Linked DNA regions of Homo sapiens: region 1 is linked to region 2. Evidence: promoter capture Hi-C in 16 types of primary human blood cells and fetal thymus (Javierre and others, 2016). All regions are on one chromosome and are shown on one strand. The core of a region is centred on a gene start or on the middle of the fragment in contact, and the rest is flanking DNA. Distances in the headings are between cores, read along the strand shown.

Evidence for each region. Contacts are between HindIII fragments. The CHiCAGO score rates a contact against its expected background, and 5 or more counts as called.
Region 1: a fragment that was not itself captured here is called in contact with the fragment with the promoter of TRIM67-AS1 in region 2 in 1 of 17 cell types (erythroblasts); the score reaches 5.2 in erythroblasts.

What each region holds. Positions count from the first base shown.
Region 1 is chr1:230,816,577-230,822,215 of GRCh38, forward strand. It overlaps the pseudogene RNA5SP79. Among named protein-coding and RNA genes, the nearest start is that of CAPN9-AS1, 24 kb to the left of the region's middle. The HindIII fragment of the contact is 2,087 bases long and covers 740-2,826 here.
Region 2 is chr1:231,182,771-231,189,113 of GRCh38, forward strand. It overlaps TRIM67-AS1 (TRIM67 antisense RNA 1), which reads right to left and starts at 4,857. Exons shown (of 3, transcript NR_166514.1): 1 at 4,747-4,857; 2 at 3,306-3,403; 3 at 1,328-2,466. The region is part of intron 1 of TRIM67 (tripartite motif containing 67); the gene reads left to right. RefSeq lists an enhancer at 1,045-1,573. The HindIII fragment of the contact is 278 bases long and covers 4,844-5,121 here.

The DNA.
Region 1 (5,639 bases), core at 533-3,032, 370 kb before region 2:
CTAACTATAAAGTTTTTTTTCTCTAAATTAACTTCTGCATTTTTCCACAAAAATCAGAAGGTTCTTTTGGAACTGTACAACACAAAGAGTGAACTCAAATGTAAATGATGGATTTCAGTTGATAGTAATGTGTCAATATTGGTTCATCAATTGCAATAAATATACCACATCAGTGTTAATATGTGTGTGTGTGTGTGTGTGTGTGTGTGCGCGCGCTTGCATGAGTGTGTGTGTGTTAGTGATAGGAGAAACTGTGGAGGAAGAGAGGGGGAAAATGGGATATATGAGACCCGTCTCTGCTTGCTGTTCAATTTTTCTGTACAACTAAAACTGTAACTTTGTTCTGATTACTTTTAAATTGAAATCCATTTCCTTAAAAATCACTATCACTGTTTTCTCATGCCTTTGACTTCTTATCATGGCCCCTTGATCAGGACTGTCCAGAGAGCTCACGCCTCCCTTTGTTCATGAAGGTGGGCGTGTTCATCACTGGTGGGTGTGCTCATCACAGGGTGGTTTCTGAGACTGAGGAGCCATCAGCCTTCAAACTTCCTTTGCTTCAACCTCTAGCTTCAGTTGGCTGGTGGCTATTTTCACTTCAGCAAGAACTTCACTAGATTTGTAGATCTTTGGAAATCAAGACCAAGCTTGAGTAGAATATTTTTCCAGACATCTCTGAGGTTGAATTTGCAACCTCCTGCAAAGAGTTGTCAGTGTTCTCTGAATCCTGGGTTTTGAAAGCTTCCCGGTTTCATGTTTGTCTATGATTTTTACAACATGGTTCTGGAAGCTCTTGCAAACATAAATTTTTAAATGGACACAACTTTCGGACTTCCATGTTCATGTCTGCATTGTCCAGTTTTAGCAAGAACCCTGCTAAGTCAGTTTAACTAGATTGTCCACACTCAATATCTGATCGCCATCGATATCTGATCAGGTTCCTCGTCTTCCACCATTTGCCAGGTGATGTCTGATCACCCTGGCCTGCCTTCAGCAAGAATCCTGTTGGGTTGGTTTAGCCAGAATCCCCCTCAGCCCTAATGCTTCCTCTTACTAATTTTCCATCCAGTGACCTCTCCCTCCACTCTACTCCTTGGCTATAAATTCTCACTTTTCCTTGTTGTATTCAGAGTTGAGCCCAGTCTCTCTCCCCAGCTGCAGAACACCACTGCTGTGATCCTTACACCTATGTCGATGATCCTGAATAAAGTCTCCCTTACCATCTTTTTTTTCTTTTTCTTTTTCTTTTTTTTTTTTTTTTTTTTTTTTTGAGATGGAGTCTCGCTCTGTCGCCAGCTGGAGTGCAGTGGCGTAATCTCGGCTCACTGCAACCTCCTCCTCCCAGGTTCAAGTGATTCCCCTGCCTCAGCCTCCCAAGTAGCTGGGATTACAGGTTCGTGCCACCATGTCCAGCTAATTTTTGTATTTTTAGGAAAGACGGGGTTTCACCATGTTGGGCAGGATGGTCTCCATCTCTTCACCTTGCGATCTGCCCGCCTCGGCCTCCCAAAGTGCTGGGATTACAGGCATGAACCACCGCGCCTGGCCTCCTTCGCCATCTTTAATAAATGTCATGATTTTTGTTTATTTAACATTATTTTCTATTCCTGCCCCTCCCACCCTACACACGCTTACACCCCAGAGTCTCCCCTGTCTAACTATTTTTGGAAGAGGCAGTACAGGATCATCTGCCATACAGTCTCCCTCTCAGCCCCTGCTCCTAAGTCACAGGGCATTGATGTTCTAGACTAAAGTTTTTCTGAAATGAAACCACAGCCACACACTGCCCAATGTGTTTTTATTACCATAGTGTGGAAAGAAATATATAGAGATTCATTGAGGAGCATATAGGAACTGGAGAAACACATGGAATCACCATGCATGAAATCACTTCGAAGGAAGCTGCAAGACATTATGTGCCTATTAAATAATGGAAAATGGAATGTGCATTTTAAAAATAAGCCTTTCACCAAGACAAATGAGATCATCTTCTTGGAAAGAACTCAGCCAGGCATGGAAGAAATCCCACCATCCTTGTTCATGCCTTTGCATCTGAGGATGTGAAGAGGTCAGAGGCCAAGGCTTCTCACATGCATTCACCAGGGGTGTGGGGTTGATACTACTTTTGGTTCTCAGAGAGGATGAAAGAGAAGCACAGAGAATTTTGTTTCTCAAACTGCCTCTCTCACCCTCTTCTCGTGTCTGAAGTATCTAGACACTGCCCTTAATTGTGCCCGGGAACATGTGGCCCAGACAAATGAAAACCAATCAGTGCTTCATTTCCTCACTTTATAAATTCAGGAATTCTAATGTTGTCTTTGAAAGAAGGTAGAACAGGCGCAGAGAGAGGAATACTTACTCATGTCCATACAACCTTCTGGAGGAACAGTGGTGGGCCAGCCTAAAGCCCGATAGAAGAGAAAGAATGGTAGGAGCCATGAAAAGGAAGGATGAAGCAAAGATGGCTGATGTGACCATGGGACAGAGAGAGAAAACGGTCCCACTAACACAAGTGAGTAAACTGGAGGCAGGTGTGGTGGCACAAGCCTGTAACCCCAGCTACTCCGGAGGCTGGGAGGATCATGTGAGTCCAGGAGCTGAAGACCAGCCTGGGCAACATTGTGAGACCTTGTCTCAAAACCAAAAACAAAATCGGTCATTGTGACCAGGAGTATATTTCAGTTTGAGATTTGAGATCGTTGTGGAATATCAACATAAAAACATCCTGACAGAAAATTAGAGTGTGGGAGTGGATTCTTCGTGAGATTTTGGAGGTGGTGATTTGAATTTAAAAGGTGCCAATTCAGGTAAGTCATTTAAAAGCCAAGCTTTCATAAGAAAGCAAGTGTGAAAAGAGAACACCTAAAGGTATAGAGCCTTACAGAAGCCTGGCATTAGGACATAGAAAAATGAAGAATTTTTAAAAATAGTAATAAAAAAGTAACATGCAACTCCAAAAAAATGATAATAATAATAGTAAAATAAAGGAGATGTCAGAGACGTTATGAGATGTATCACGCAGCCCAGAGTTTTGTTGGCATGGGCTAGAGAGAGATTTGAACTCTGGCCTGTTTGAATCTGAAGTCCATGCTTTTCCCACCACTACTTCTAAAACAAAAACACATCCCCTCAACCCAAACCCTCCCTCTTCTTGGGCTCCAAAGGCTTCCAGAAGTGCAGTTACCTTCTAGGTCTTCAGAAAAGGAGTTTGATTCAAGGCTACAGAGAGGAGATGGAGAGGGCCGATAGCTAAGACCCAGAGAGAAGCCAACTCTGCAGTGGAGTGAAGCAGATACCCTGGCCTAGAGCCACACCACTGAAAGGTGGTGCAACCTGGGTCTCTCTGAGACTGAAGGCCAAGTTCTATCCATGGTCCTATACTGCTGGGAAGAGAATGTTCTGAAGAAGAGATACCTGCTTGTTACTGAAAAGTCAGAGAGGCTTCAGATGCTGATGAATGGCTTGAATGTGCCCAAAGGTTAACAGTGGCTTTCAAAAGTACAGATATGGACGGGTAAGGTTGCAGGGGAGAACAGCTGTTATAAATGGCTCCATCAAGCATCTTGACCACAGGGACCATGAGCTTGGTCTATTGGGGGCTAAATGGGCCCTGGAATGAGGCAAGGCATTTGATTACAGAGGCACAAAGACAGCTGTTTAAAAGTGGAGCACAGTCTACGGCCATACCACCTTGAATGCACCTGATCTTGTCAGCTACGCAGGGTCTGGCCTGGTTAGTACTAGGGTGGGAGACCACATGGGAATACCGGATGCTGCAGGCTTTAAAAAAATGCATAATGAGCTCCTTGAGACTGAGTTTAAGATGAGAGGAAACATTCAATTAAATCCACTACCACTGAGGGTCTCCTATGAGCCAGGCACGGTGATAAATTAAATGCTGGAGACACAGCCATGAGTTTGATGCAGTTCCTGCTACTAGGAGCTGCAGCATGGTGGAGGTGGAATGAGGCAGCTGCAGGAACAGACCTCTGTCATAGAGGAGTGAGTGCTCCTGGTGCCATCTGTGGCAGATTGATTGCATGTGGCCCTACCCTTCTCCTGGCCTGTGCCATAGTCCCTGTCCTATCACTTTGGAGTGCCTCCCCTCTGACTCTGGGACCAGCCTTGGGATTTGCTTTGTGTCGGCCAATGGGACACAACTGGAGGATTGAAAAAGCTCGTTCTCGTTCTCAACCACTTCCATGAGAACACAGCAGTCTAACTTGACCAGAGTACAAGAGGGACACACAGTTCATTCACCCTGATAGCCCTGTGCCAGCTGATTGCAGACACATGACCGAGTCTGAGTCCAGAACAGTTCTGCTGAGACCCCCAATCCTTGGCCCATGGACCTAGGAGCTAAATAGATGCCTATTGTTCTAAGCCATGGAATTCTGATGTTGTTTTGAGGCAGGGTTGTGTGGCAATAGATAACTGATACACTATTTGAAGAGAAGGGAGCATTGTTTCAGTTTACTTTGGGGTGTTGGGGATGACAAAAAAAAGAGTAAAAAAACAAAAGAGAAGGGATTCAAGGCTACACAGGGAAGAACCTGGGGCAGCAGAGCCCCCATACATTTGCATAAATAAGGAAAAGAGTACATAGCATGTAAGGCAGGGCAGGAGGTAAAGTAGGGGAGCTCAGGCATGAGGCTGGCAGGCAGGTGGCTTTTTGGGGTTAATGGGGAGAAGCCATCCTCATGGATGGGAGAGAGAAGCTGAAGAGGCTGCATGGAGGACCAGATTTGAACAGATAGCACTGTGTCCAAAGGTGGCCCCAATAAAGCAGCTGTTGTTCTTGGAGCCAGGCCTTTCTCCTGCTTCCTGTGTGACCCTCCCAAGAGCCCAAGAGTCGGAAGCATCATCACACCCACGTTGCAGATGAAGAAAGTGTACCATGAGAAGCAAGGCAGCTTGCCCAAGTCACCCAGTGCAGGCATGACAGAGAGCACCAGAGCAGGAGAGGAGGGCCCAGGCCGGTCTGGAGCATCCATTTCTAGAGGAAAGGTGAGAGGAAAGTCCTAGAGAGGGGATGCTGAGGGTGGTATGGGGGCTTAGGAAGGACACGAGTGACCACCTGCCATGGAAAGTGAGGCTAGGCTTTCCTAAGAAACAGATCAGGGCCACACCTCTCTCCAGCTCTGCTCAGCAGCCAGGAGGCAGGAGCAGGCGGACAGTAGGAGAGTCAGGGTGTGAAATATTCACACTAAGCTTTAGCAGGAGACCCCGGCAGCCAAGGGATTTCAGATGGGAGGAAAGACATAGATGGGGAAGAAAAGAAACCAGGAAATCCAGGAGAGGATGGAGGGCCTGGCAATTGAAAGAAGGTGGACCAAGGGTCTCAGAAGAGCCAAGTGGGTGTGGGGGAGGGGATGAAGTCTTGAACAAGGAGGATGTGGGCAGAGGGGACTTCTGCACCACGGGACGCTTATAAGGCCCCTGCCCACTACCTATACTGTCCAAGTCACAGGAGGCTTGTCATGGCAAACTGTACAGCTGTCTACAAATACCAGGGATAATGACTCCCCAGCATCCCACTCCTGGGACCAGGTGACGGCAGGCATCAAGACACTGGCAATTTGTCTTTTCAAGATCGTTGCAAGATCTTTTGCAATGATGGAAATGGGAAAATCCATCCA
Region 2 (6,343 bases), core at 3,607-6,106:
TCTGGGGTTGGCTCCTGCACACGTGAGCTTTTGAAGGTCATTTGGCCCTCACTGACTGCCTTGTCAGAGGAAGAAGCCCCCGTGTGCCTGCGGATATAGCTAATGACTGGAAGTCAGTTTCTGGCAGTACTGCCCATCAGTCCTGCCTCTTTTTATTTTGACTTCAGCATTAAGTTCTAGCTAAGAAAATTTGGTTGGTGGCTCTGACATATCAATCCTGGCAACTTAAAATTCACTGTTAACAAGATAGGTTGCTCCTCCCTGCAAGCCTTGGGGCAGGAGCTCGTGGGGAACTCCTAAGCAGTCAGGATTTTGGGAGTCAGAGTCTGAAGCTGAGTTGTGGAAGGGATAAAGAAGAGACCTCTCATCATCACCATCTCCACAAGCATGGACTATACCAAGGCTCAGCATGAATCACTAATTATAGCATAGCTGTCTTTGCATTTGTTGGGCATCCTAACCACTAAATCTGCTAGAGTCCTTTGCTCTGAGCAAAGGAATCCAACTCTGGCTAACTTGAATCAAAAGGAAATTATCAGAAAAATAGGCCAGGCAGAGTGGCTCACACCTGTAATCTCAGTGCTTTGGGAGGTTGAGGCAAGAGGATCACTTGAGGCCAGGAATTTGAGACCAACCTGGGCAACACAGCAAAACCTCATCTCTACAAAAAGTAAAAATAACAAAATATAAAAATTACTTGGGCATGGTGGCACGTGCCCAACATCCTAGTTACTTGGGAGGCTGAGGCAGGGAGGATCACTTGAGCTCAGGTGTTTAAGCCTGCAGTGCTTCATGATGGCACCACTGCAATCCAGACTGGACAACAAAATGAGACCCCCATCCCTCCCTCCCAACAAAAAGCAAAAAATATTGCTTTTTTCTTGAGCACTCACAGAATCAATACGAACTTTGAGAGCCAGGTTTGAAACTGTAACAACAGGGAGCACGTAGATAGCATTGAATATGTGCCAGGTGCATTTTACAGTTATTAACTCACCTAATCCTCACTATAGCTGTTAGGCACTTACTGCTATTACCCGCCTTTTGCATTTGAGGAAAATGAGGGCAGGGAGAGTAAGTGACTCACCTAATGTCACAGGGTCAGTGAGCTGGGATTCAAACCCAGGCATTCTGGCTCCCAAGGCTTCCCCAAGTGTGAAGAAGCAGCATATACAGGAATGCTCTGATAGCAGGGATCTGCTCAAGGAACTATGGAACAAACACCCATCTCTCCAGGTCTCTTTGTCTCTTTGTTCAGTTTTGAATTCCAAGGAGTTATCATCCTGCTGGCCTCGAATAGGGTGTTAACGAATCCACTGAAAAGGAATGTTTTTAAAAAGAGTCTTTATTCCAACCAGCAGTTTGCCAACTGGGGAGACTCAGCCTTCAGTATAAAACAAAGGCACGTCTGCCAGAACAAAGAGAAGGGCTATCCTGCATAGAAAAAGTTTCTGCTTAGATTCTAATCCCAGTTCCCATTGCATCTGAGGGATGCAAGCTTGTTCAGTTCTGATTTGCTGATGTTAAAGTTGACCACGGGTCACATTTCATTGGTCAGGTTCAGGTGGTAGAATGAGGACGTCGGCAGCAGTTGATTCTGGCAGTGTGAGCAGGAACAGACAGCTAAGAAGGCCCCAACATTGAGCTACTGTTCGGCTTGCACAGGGCATGTAGGGAACCTGCAGTAGGCAAATGGCTTTCAGCGCCACTCAGAATTCAGACCCGGATAGCCCCTCAGGATCCATCTCGAAGGGCTGGCTCTCTCAGGGTTCACACAGGCATGTGCCTACCCCTTGTCAGGGTGAAGGCAGTGGTACTGGAGTCCTAATTCCAGCCCTACCAGGCTGTGCTCAGTGGAGAAAAGGCAACTTCTCAAAGCAAAATTGGGATACTGTTATAGAGGATAATGGAAGGTCAACAGCAGAAAAACAATGGTCCCTGCAGCTGTCGGGGAAGCTCTCTCTGGGGTTCTCATTCTACCGAGAACCACCATGAGTAGAGTGCCAGTCCCTGAACCCAGGGCCTTCCATGCACACCATCATTAAACCTTGAGGCAGGCCTTTGGGGTGGGTATCATCACCCCAATTCACACGTGAGGACACGAAGTCTCACAGAGGGCAAGAAACTAGGTCACGTAAAATTAGGGTTTGAATTCAGGGCCCAACCCTGAAGCCCAGCTCTAAGGGTTGCTGGATAAACACCCAGCAGTGCTCCTGAATGGGTGGCCGGCAGGTTGGGGAGGGTCAGCTTATTCTGCTTGCAGGGCCTAGGCTAGTGTGGAGCTGAGCTGGTGCCTGGACTTCCAGAGAGCAGGGCACTTCGGTCACCATCTGCTGGCTCCTAAATCCGAGTTGCTGGCTCAATGGGAAGTGTGTGTTGTCCAGCCAGCCAGCCTGTACTCCACGGCGTCCATTCCTGCACCTTCCACCCTTCTCAGGATTCCCAGAGCCTTTATCTGAAAACTCCCTGTGAGAAAGGAGTCTCCCCTCACCCCTGGACCAGCTCTCCCTCCCACCCTCCTACACTGGAGGGATCTGAGAAAAGAAAAGGAAGGAAAGTCAGAAGGGAGAATGGCTCTTGTTTTCCTCATCTGAAGTGGGGAAGAATCTAAAACAACCCAAACAAGTGGAACCCAGGAGCTCCCACCACGGCGGGACCCCCAGGAAGTCTGTGTTCCAGCCCCCAGTGCAGGACCAGGGAGTGAGCCGGGATGAACAGGCAGCGAGGGGAGGCCACATCGAGAGTGAGAAGTGGGATCCCTAGTAGGAGACACAGAGGATGCCTTGGGCTGCAGCACTGGGACCTTTGCCTAGGGGAGCCCAGACGCGTCCTGCCCTTTTGCAGCTCCCCAGAGCACACAGCACGAAATCAGTGAATTCAGAAGACACTGTTGAGTGCCCGTTCTGCACAGGCTCTGTACTAGGGACACAAAGATGATTGAACGGCTCACTCTGGAAGTCCTGATCTAGTGAGGGACACGGTCAAGTAGATAAGTAACTAAGACCTCAGACAGATGATGGCGAGGGCCACAGTCGGAGGTAAGCGAGAGGTGATGGCAGAACAGAGATGAACCACAAAGTTCATGGAGTCTGGGGGGAAGACTTCGTGGAAAAGGAGGATTTGAGTTGGACGTGGGCAAGCTGAGCTAGGACTGGAGATGAGTGTGATAAACGGCCGTGACAGCCGGGACAAGGGCTCATAACTAGAGGAGACGAGAAGGAGGTGGGTCTTCTGGAAGATAGGTGCTTGGGTTGCAGATTTTCCCAGGGAAAAAGAAGGGGATGTTCCCCGTGAGCAGAACTCACCTCTCTCCTGATAGGCGGCTGGCAGTCGCTTGCTGAATGAATACATCGGTGAATGGATGAAGGGCTTGACAGCCAGGCTGAGGCGCTCCCTCTTTGTTCTGCATGAATCACAGCAGTGGAACTCTTGAGCCCAAAGGGCCAGAAGGAGAGACAAGAGTACATTCTGGCAAAAGCAGGATTTCTTCCTGAAGGAGGAGCACATCTCTAGTTGGAACAGGACAAATCGGGCCTGACCTGGATTCCTGGTTTCAGCAGCGCATCCGTGGACCTCCTTTTAGTCCCTCTGTATTCTTTGCTAGGGTTGCCAGAGCAAAGTACCACAAACTGGGTGGCTTAGAACCACAGAAATATATCGTCTCACTGTTCTGGAAGCCAGAAGACTGAAATCAGGGTGTCGGCAGGGCTATGCTGCCCCTGAGGGCTCTGGGAAGGACCTGCTCCGGCCTCTCTCCCAGCTCCTTGTAGATCCTTGGCAGCATAACTCCAATCTTCACGTGGTGCTTTCCCTAGCACCTGTCTGTCTCTATGTCCAAATCTCCCCTCTTCATAAGGACACCAGTCCTGCTGGATTAGGGCCCACCCTAATGACCTCATTCTAACTGAATCATCTCTTCAAGTACAGTCACATTCTGAGGTGCTGGGGGTTAGGACTTCAATGTCTAAATTTTGGGGGACACAATTCAGTCCGTCGCCCTTCCCCTGAGGCTGGTCCAGGATACAGGCTTGCATTGAGCAGTATCTCCAACCATTTGAAAATGCCAGGCAGCCTTCCCCAGCCCAGCACCCCAGAGGCCTAAAATGAAAGCTTGGATGATGGGAAGGTGCTTCTCAGGCTGTCTGGGCAGCTTTCATCTTCCTGCTAGAGGAAGGGGACTGCTTTACCCGCACATCCCACGACATCCACGGCTGCCTCATCAGCAAGGCTAATGAGGATGCCCATCTCACAAGCATATGGATCTCGACCAGGAGATCAATCTAAGTCTAAAAACAGAAAGCTGAAAGCTTCCCAGGCAATGGTGTGACCAGGAAGTCGTAGCTGTGTTGTTGGATCCCTCTTTATATTTCACCTGGGAAGACAGCGTTTAAGAAGATGAAGGAAAATAGCCACATTTAAGCAACAAGGGGCAAGAAAGAAGATGCAGGGAAAAGACCTGCCTCTGTTGGCCCCAGGCTCCCCAAGTGGGGAGTAGGATTTCGGGATAAAAGGAGAAGGAGATCATCTGCCTGGCGGAGGAGTGTGCCTCAGTGGTATCCGTGCCTCCCTCAGGTGGTGCTTAGAAGTCAATTTCTCTGCTTACCCAGGAGCCTCTACCTTTTAATTTTTTTAAAAAATGAGTCATTTACATTTCTCATTTATTTCTACTGTTCTGCCAACAGATGAGGGCATTTTTAACTTATTAGGCATTATTATCAGCCACAGGTTAAAAAAAAAAAACAATACCTTAGCACTGAGGGGCAGATAAAAAGGTGAGAGAAATCCCCTGTGGTCCATTTCACAACCTCCTTTGTGCCCAATGATGGTGTGAAACTCTCAGTGAAGCTTCGATTCCTGTTTTAATACACGCCCCATCTCTACTGTCTCCCAAGTGGGGCATCAAACTGCAGGAGGCGGAGTGGGAGAGGCGGGGTGGGAAAGGCGGGCAGAAGGAAGCCACGTGGCTGGGTAGCCAGAGGGACAGCGGGCAAGCTCTCTCTGATCCACGCCAGGCACAAAGGAGCTGCTGTAGTGCTTCTGGAGAGAGACCCAGGCAGGCAGATGCTTGGTTAGGCTGTGGGAACAAGAAAGTAGCTCAGCACTCCAGACGCCTAAGATGAAAGCTTGGCTGATGGGAAGTGACAGGAGTGAATCTATGGGATCTCCCTTCCTAGAGAAAAGCAAGTCCTGTTCTTTCGTGTTCTCTCCCAGAGGAGAGCTGCCTGCACTTCCCTGCCCTGCCAATCCATTTTTGCTTCCCATGCTCTCCCACTCTCACAGAGACATCTTTGTGAGAGCGTGATCTATGACTGTGTCCACATAATCCCTTCCACCCCTCCATCACACTGGGACCCGTGTTACATGGCACCATATTGCTATTCAAGGCAGTCTTGGTTGCTTCTGCCTCCCCCAGACACCTTGCTCTGTGTGGGACAGGAGCAGGAGGAGGTGGTGGTCAGTGTCATCCTCCCACATGTGTCCCCTGCAGTGCAGGGACAAAGCCCAGACTGATGGCAACGTTGCTTTATCAACATTCGCAAAGTGGCTGTGGAGGCTTCCTACACAGCTGCACATTTGAAATCCTAATGAGCTGGAGAGTGGAGCTTGGGTCTGATGAAACCATCATTGGCAGACAGGCAACCCTGCCCAAGCACACAGAATGCCAGGGACAAGGGTCCCCTGGAGAATAAAGATGCAGCTGGAAGATGGTGGGTGGTCTCAGCCCAGCAGCCCTGCCTCCGAGGGATTTTAATGGGAAATTAGGTTTTGTCCTCCTTCCACGTTGGTTGAACATCCAAAGTGCAGTGCAATGGAGTGCAAAGAGCATCGACTTTGGATTCAGAAAAATCTGGGTTTGAGTCCTGGCCACACTACTTACTAGCTGTGTGACTTTGAGCAAATTACTTCCCCTCTCGAGCCCATGCTCCCTTCTGTAAAATGGTGTTAATATGGCACCTCCTTGCTAGGTTATGAGGAATCAGATAAATTCGGCATGTAAAGAGCTCAGCACTTAGCAAGCTGTCGGTTGTTATTCTTATTGCTATTAATGGGAAGTCACCAGTTGCTACTGATCCTGTCCCACCTCAGGAGAGGAGAGGCCATCAAGTCCAGGTTGTGACTGGGTTCGGGCAGTCAGACCTTTGTCCTGTGGCACAAAAATGACATTGTTCTCCACAAGATCCACTTTTCTGGCCTCAGCGGGTGGATCTGTGTCTGGTGGATGTTGGTTCTGTGATGGATCTTGTCCTGAGAACTGCCTCATGGGCCCAGTACAAAGCTGACGATCCAGGTAGAAACAGACCCTCAATCAGGCACCATTTATAGTGGGTCCTGTGTACTAGCC